Regions from separate parts of the Homo sapiens genome. Here region 1 is linked to region 2. The links are contacts of gene promoters, found by promoter capture Hi-C in human tissues and cell types (Jung and others, 2019). All regions are on one chromosome and are shown on one strand. Each heading gives the region's core, a stretch centred on a gene start or on the middle of the fragment in contact. The rest is flanking DNA. Distances are from core to core; before and after follow the strand shown.

Region 1 (3,178 bases), core at 10-2,509, 320 kb before region 2:
TGTTTTGGAACTAGAGAGATGTTGTGGTTGCATAACATTGTGAATGTATTAAATGCCACTGAGCTCTTCACTTTAAAATGGTTACTTTCCTTGTGTAAAGTTTACCTCAATTTTCTTAAAAAGAAAATTGACAGCTTAAAGCAAAATTAGTAATTATTGTGGTGTTTGTAGAAGTAAATAGTATGTCAAGAATAAAAGAGAGAATAGGAATAAGAAATAGAAATATATTTCTGTAAGTAAGTTTCTTACACTATATATTAGTCTGTTCTCACACTGCTAGAAAGAACTACCTGAGACTTGGTAATTTGTGAAGAAAAGAGGTTTAATTGACTCACAGTTCCACAGACTATACCAGAAAGCATGACTGGGAGCCCTCATGAAACCTACAATCATGGCAGAAGGTGAAGGGGAAGCAAGCACCTTCTTCACATGGTGGCAGCAGAGAGAGTGAGAAAGAGAAGAGGTAAGTGCCACACACTATTAAACCATCAGGTCTTGTGAGAACTTATGATTGCAAGGGGGAATTCTGCCCCCAAGATCCAATTACTTCCCACTAGGTTCCTCCTTTGCTTCAATGTGTGATTTGGGTGAGAACACAAATCCAAACCATATCATTCCACCCCTGGCCCCTCCCAAATCTCATGTCCTTCTCACATTTCAAAACCAATTATGCCTTCCCAACAGTCCCCCAAAGTCTTAAGTCATGCCAGCATTAACTTGAAAGTCCAAGTCCAAAGTTTCATCTGAGACAAGGCAAGTCTCTTCCATCTATGAGCCTGTAAAATAAAAAACAAGTTAGTTACTTCAAGATACATTGGGGGTGCAGGCATTGGGTAAATATTCCCATTCCAAAAAGGAGAAATTGGCCAAACAAATGGGCTACATGCTCCATGCAAGTCTGAAACTCAGCAGGGCAGCCATCAAATCTTAAAGCTTTGAAATAATTTCATTTGACTCCATGTCTTACATCCAGGACACACTGAAGCAAGCAGGGGGTGGGCGCCCATGGCCTTGGGCAGCTCCACCCCATGGCTCTGCACAGGATGGCACTGAGTACCTGTAGCTTTTCCAGGCACAAAGTGCAAGCTGTCAGTGGATCTACCATTCTGGGGTCTGGAGGATGGTGGCCCTCTTCTCACAGCTCTGCTATGCAGTGCCCCAGTGAAGACTCTGTGTGGGGGCTCCAATCCTACATTTCCTTTCCACATTGCCCTAGTAGAGGTTCTTCATGAGGGCTCCACCCCTGCAACACCACATGGAAGTCACCAAGGCTTGGGGCTTGCACTCTCTGAAGCAATGGCCTGAACTGTACCTTGGCCCCTTTTAGCCATGGCTGGAGCTGGAATGGCTGTGATGCAAGTCACCATATCCTGAGGCTGCAGAGAGCAGCAGGGCCTTGTGCCTGGCCCAGGAAACCATTTTTCCCTCCTAGGCCTCCTGAGTGATGGGAGGTGCTACCTCAAAGGTCTCTGAAATGCCCCAGAGACATTTCCCCATTGTCTTGACTATTAACATTCAGTTCCTCTTTACTTATTCAAATTTCTACAGCCAGCTTGAGCTTGAATTCCTCTCCAGAAAATGGATTTTTCTATTCCATCAAATGGTCAGGCTGCAAATTTTCCAAACTTTTACGCTCTGCTTCCCTTTTAAATATAAGTTCCAATTTCAGACCATCTCTTTCTTTATGCAAATGAGCATAGGCTTTTAGGAGCCTCCAGGTCACATTTTCAAGGCTTTGCTGCTTAGAAATTTCTTCTATCAGATACCCTAAATCATCTCTCTCAGGTTCAAACTTACACAGATCTCTAGGGCTGGGGCAAAATGCTGCCAGTCTCTGCTAAAGCATAGCAAGAGTAACCTTTACTCCAGTTTCTAATAAGTTCCTCATCTCCATTTGAGACACCCTCTGTCAAGCCTCTGAGTCCAAGCTAAGGCATCATATCCCCTATGACCTGCATGTATACATCCAGATGGCCCAAAGCAACTGAAGAACACCAAAGAAGTGAAAATAGCCAGTTCCGGCCTTAACTGATGACATTCCACCATTGTGATTTGTTCCTGCCCCACCCTAACTGATCAATTGACCTTGTGACATTCCTTCTCCTGGACAATGAGTCTCAGAAGCTCCCCACTGAGCACCCTATAACCCCCACCCCTGTCCACAAGAGAAAACCCCTGTTTGACTGTAATTTTCCACTATCTACCCAAATCCTATAAAACTGCCCCACCCCATCTCCCTTTGCTGACTCCTTTTTTGGACTCAGTCCACCTGCACCCAGGTGATTAAAAAGCTTTGTTGCTCACATAAAGCCTGTTTGGTGGTCTCTTCACATGGCCAAGCATGTCACCCTCAGCCTGGACTTCATTTTCCATATCACTATCAGCATTTTGGTCAAAAGCATTCACCAAATCTCTAGGAAGTTCCAAGCTTTCACATATCTTCCTGTCTTCTTCTGAGTCCTCCAAACTGTTCCAACCTCTGCTCATTACCAGTTCCAAAGTCACTTCCACATTTTCAAATATCTTTATAGCAGTGTCCCACTCTTCTAGTACCAATTTTCTGTATTAGTCCATTCTCACATTGCTAGAAAGAACTACCTGAGAGTGAGTAATTTATGAAGAAAAGAGGTTTAATTTACTCCATTAATTACCTGACCTCCATAAGCCACTACTTTAACTGGAGGACCACAGTGATGTTTTGGGTCCCTTGGAATCAATGTCAGCTCAGAGCCAGTGTCCAGTATTCCCTGAAAGATCTGATCATTTCCCTTTCCTTAATGCACAATTACTCTGGTAAAAGGTTGAAGGTCAGGCCGGGCACAGTGGCTCATGCCTGTAATCCCAGCACTTTGGGAGGCTGAGGCAGGCAGATCATAAGGTCAGGAGTTCAAGACCAGCCAGGCCAACAAGGTGAAACCCTGTCTCTACTAAAAATACAGAAATTAGCTGGGCATGGTGGCATGTGTCTGTAATCCTAGCTACTGGGGAGGCTAAGGCAGGAGAATTGCTTGAACCAGGACCCAGGAGGCAGAGGTTGCAGTGAGCCGAGATTGTGCCACTGCACTCCAGCCTGGGCTACAGAGTGAGACTCTGTCTCAAAAAAAAAAAACAAAAACAAAAAACAAAAAAAAAGGTTGAAGGTCTCCTTGGGGAAGGATGGGAGAAAGATTAACAGCAT
Region 2 (3,041 bases), core at 512-3,011:
ATGGCCGCTTCTAGCCACAAAGGATTCTAGCAAATGCTGTTTTTTGGCTGAGCACATTAATGCTCAAACCAAAGAAGTTTTTGTTTGTAAGAAAGGTAGGGAAAATGATCTTTGGGTAGGCAACTAGGGTATTTACACAATTGGAATGAGAAAATTGGAGTGTAACTTATATAAAGATAGGAATTACTGAAGGAGAAGCAGGTTCATGGAGGAAGATGCTTGGTTTGGATGTATCAATTTGTGGATACTGTTGGGAAATCCAGGTAAAAATGTAACAAAAAGGAGTTGGAAAGAAATGAACAAATATTTTGGTTCAGTAACACCTTTGTAATGTGTTGCAATATTGTTGATTGAGAGGTTGGCCATAAGGCTAAGCACTAAAATATTGTTAAGTTTTGCCAACAAAAAGGCTTGTCCCAATTTTCAAAAAGAAATAGTTAATAGTAAAAAGATCATTTGGTCTATGCCCATAATTCTGTTGCTAATCTGAAGTGCCAAGCTCATCTTCAATATAAGCTGTTATAATTTAAAATTTCTGCTGAGTCTAGCAGCGTACTTTCTTTACCTAGCAGCAACTATCAAATATTTAGTCATAACTGGCCGGGCGCAGTGGCTCACGCCTGTAATCCCAGCACTTTGGGAGGCCAAGGCAGGTGGATCATGAGGTCAGGAGATCAAGACCATCCTGGCTAACACAGTGAAACCACATCTCTACTAAAAATACAAAAAATATTAGCCGGGCATGGTGGCAGGCGCCTGTAGTCCCAGCTACTCGGGAGGCTCAGGCAAGAGAATGGCGTGAACCCGGGAGGCAGAGCTTGCAGTGAGCCGAGATCGCGCCACTGCACTCCAGCCCGGGCAACAGAGCGAGACTCTGTCTCGAAAAAAATATATGTATATACACATATATATACATATATACATATATATACACACACATATATACAGTCATAACTAAGACTGTGTGTTATTATGGAAAGAGCGTGAGATTTGGGTCCAGAGAGCCTTGGCTTTGCCATTTATGATGAACAGAATGACTTTGAGCAAGATACCTGTCAGAGCCCCAGTTTTCTTATTTGGGAAACAGGGATAAGGTATTACTTGCCTTACAGGATTGTAATTAGTATCAAATAGATAATGTTTGCCAAATGTTTTACATACAATAAAATGTTATACAAAACAAAGCTATTGTTCTTATTATAACAATAGGTAGAGAAGTGGTAACTGGATACTCTGGAGGACAGTTGAGTTTCTGTAAAAGACTTGAAGTAAATTTAACACTTAATTCATTAAACTGTCAACTGAAGTTCTGCTAAGTCAGACACATTACTAATAAAAACATGCATTCCTGAGCGTGTGTGCGTGTGCGTGTGTGTCTGTTGAGAGCTTGATGAATGTACCAGCATATTCACCAACCACAGAAAGCTGTTTGCGTGATGTGAAACCCTGAGGATCATAGCTTCAGAAACCGGAAAGACTTCACTGTATTTCACTAGGGTGGGATATCACCATCAGTGGTCCTACACTTGCCAAAGATCCAGTCTGTAAGAAGATTTAGAGAGTATTGAAATGCAATTTTTGGCCCACCACAGATATCTTCTAATCCCAAAGTAAAGACTGAAAGCTTCACCTGTTTTTCACTATCAAATGCCTCAAGCTATAAATAGGTCCAAAGCTCATCTCTCTCCACTTAGCAGAGAAGAATCAAATTTCCGGGGGCAAAGCAAAATAATAAAATGAATGTCAGGATATTTTATAGTGTCAGTCAGTCACCCCACAGTCTCCTCTCTCTTCTTTTCTACTGTGCTATCCTAGAATCAAGGATTTCAGCAACAATGCCTCTGTTCAAACTCCCAGGTAGGTGTACAAAGTGTTTGGAGAGCTCAGTTGTTGTTGTTTTTTTTTTTTTTTGACAAGCAACTGTTCCTTTAGCTACCATATCAGCTTTGATCATTCATTTAGGGTTCGTGATAGCTTTAACATACATTTCAGGAAAACACAAAATATTTTCAAGGGTTTTTTGTTTGTTTTTAGTTTTGGGATGTGGGTAAGTTTCTAAAACTGTTATCATGTATATTGCATCTTTGATGATCCCAGTAGAAAACTCTGTGAAATATTTAATATCTATTCTGCTAGTCTAAACAAAACCTGTGCTGCCATAGCTCTGAGACGGCTTCTACATAATGACTCTAGCTATGGTATTGGCTGAAAATCATGAACATGACAAAAATAACCCATGTGTGTATTCTGATGGTTCACGAGAATAGCTTTCTGTTGTCCAGGTTTGTACGCAGAGTAATTTTTAAAATAATAATGTTATAATTTTTAAATGATAAAAGCAATACATGTTTCATGTGAAATAGAAATTGTGCTGAAAAAATAAAAGTAATAAACATTCGTTTTGAAAGTTGGGAAATTCAGTAAAAGTAATAATTTTATTTTTTACTTATTTATTTATTTTTTGAGACAGGGTGTCACTCTGTTGCCCAGGCTGGAGTGCAGTGGCACGATCACGATTCACTGCAGCCCCAATCTTCTGGGATCTGGTGATCCTCCCACCTCAGCCTCCCGAGTAGCTGGGACTACAGGCACTTGCCACCACGCCCAGCTAGTTTTTGTATTTTCTGTAGAGACAGGGTTTCGCTATGTTGCCCAGGCTCATCTTAAACTCCTGAGCTCAAGCAATCTGCCTGCCTCAGCCTCCCAAAGTGCTGGGATTACAAGTGTTAGCCACTGCACCCAGCCAAAAGTAATAATTTTAAAAATCTGCACATCCATTATCCAAAGATATTCACTCTTAACATTTTAGTGTTTTTTTTTCTTTTCAATCTATTTTCTGTGTAAAATTAAAGAGTTTTTTTTAAAAAGGCACTGTTATTATATTGCACATGTAATTTTATATCCTGCTTTTGGCAGGATAATGTTTTGGCTTAACTTTACAACTTATCCTTTTACCATGGTATCCCAAACCTTTCCTAAAAACCATTTTAAAAGACTGCATATTCTATTTTCTTAATTAATCCCTTAGGTTCTTTATGGTT

The links. The method cuts DNA at HindIII sites, captures the fragments that hold promoters and counts their contacts. A contact is called where the count stands out against the background at its distance.
Region 1: a contact is called between a fragment that was not itself captured here and the fragment with the promoter of AMPD1 in region 2, in 1 of the 25 tissues and cell types used here (H1 embryonic stem cells).

Annotation. Positions count from the first base shown.
Region 1 is chr1:115,010,497-115,013,674 of GRCh38, reverse strand. No RefSeq gene overlaps it. Among named protein-coding and RNA genes, the nearest start is that of TSHB, 18 kb to the left of the region's middle. The HindIII fragment of the contact is 4,334 bases long and covers 1-3,178 here.
Region 2 is chr1:114,694,266-114,697,306 of GRCh38, reverse strand. It overlaps AMPD1 (adenosine monophosphate deaminase 1), which reads left to right and starts at 1,761. Exons shown (of 16, transcript NM_000036.3): 1 at 1,761-1,857. The coding sequence starts at 1,836. The HindIII fragment of the contact is 10,350 bases long and covers 1-3,041 here.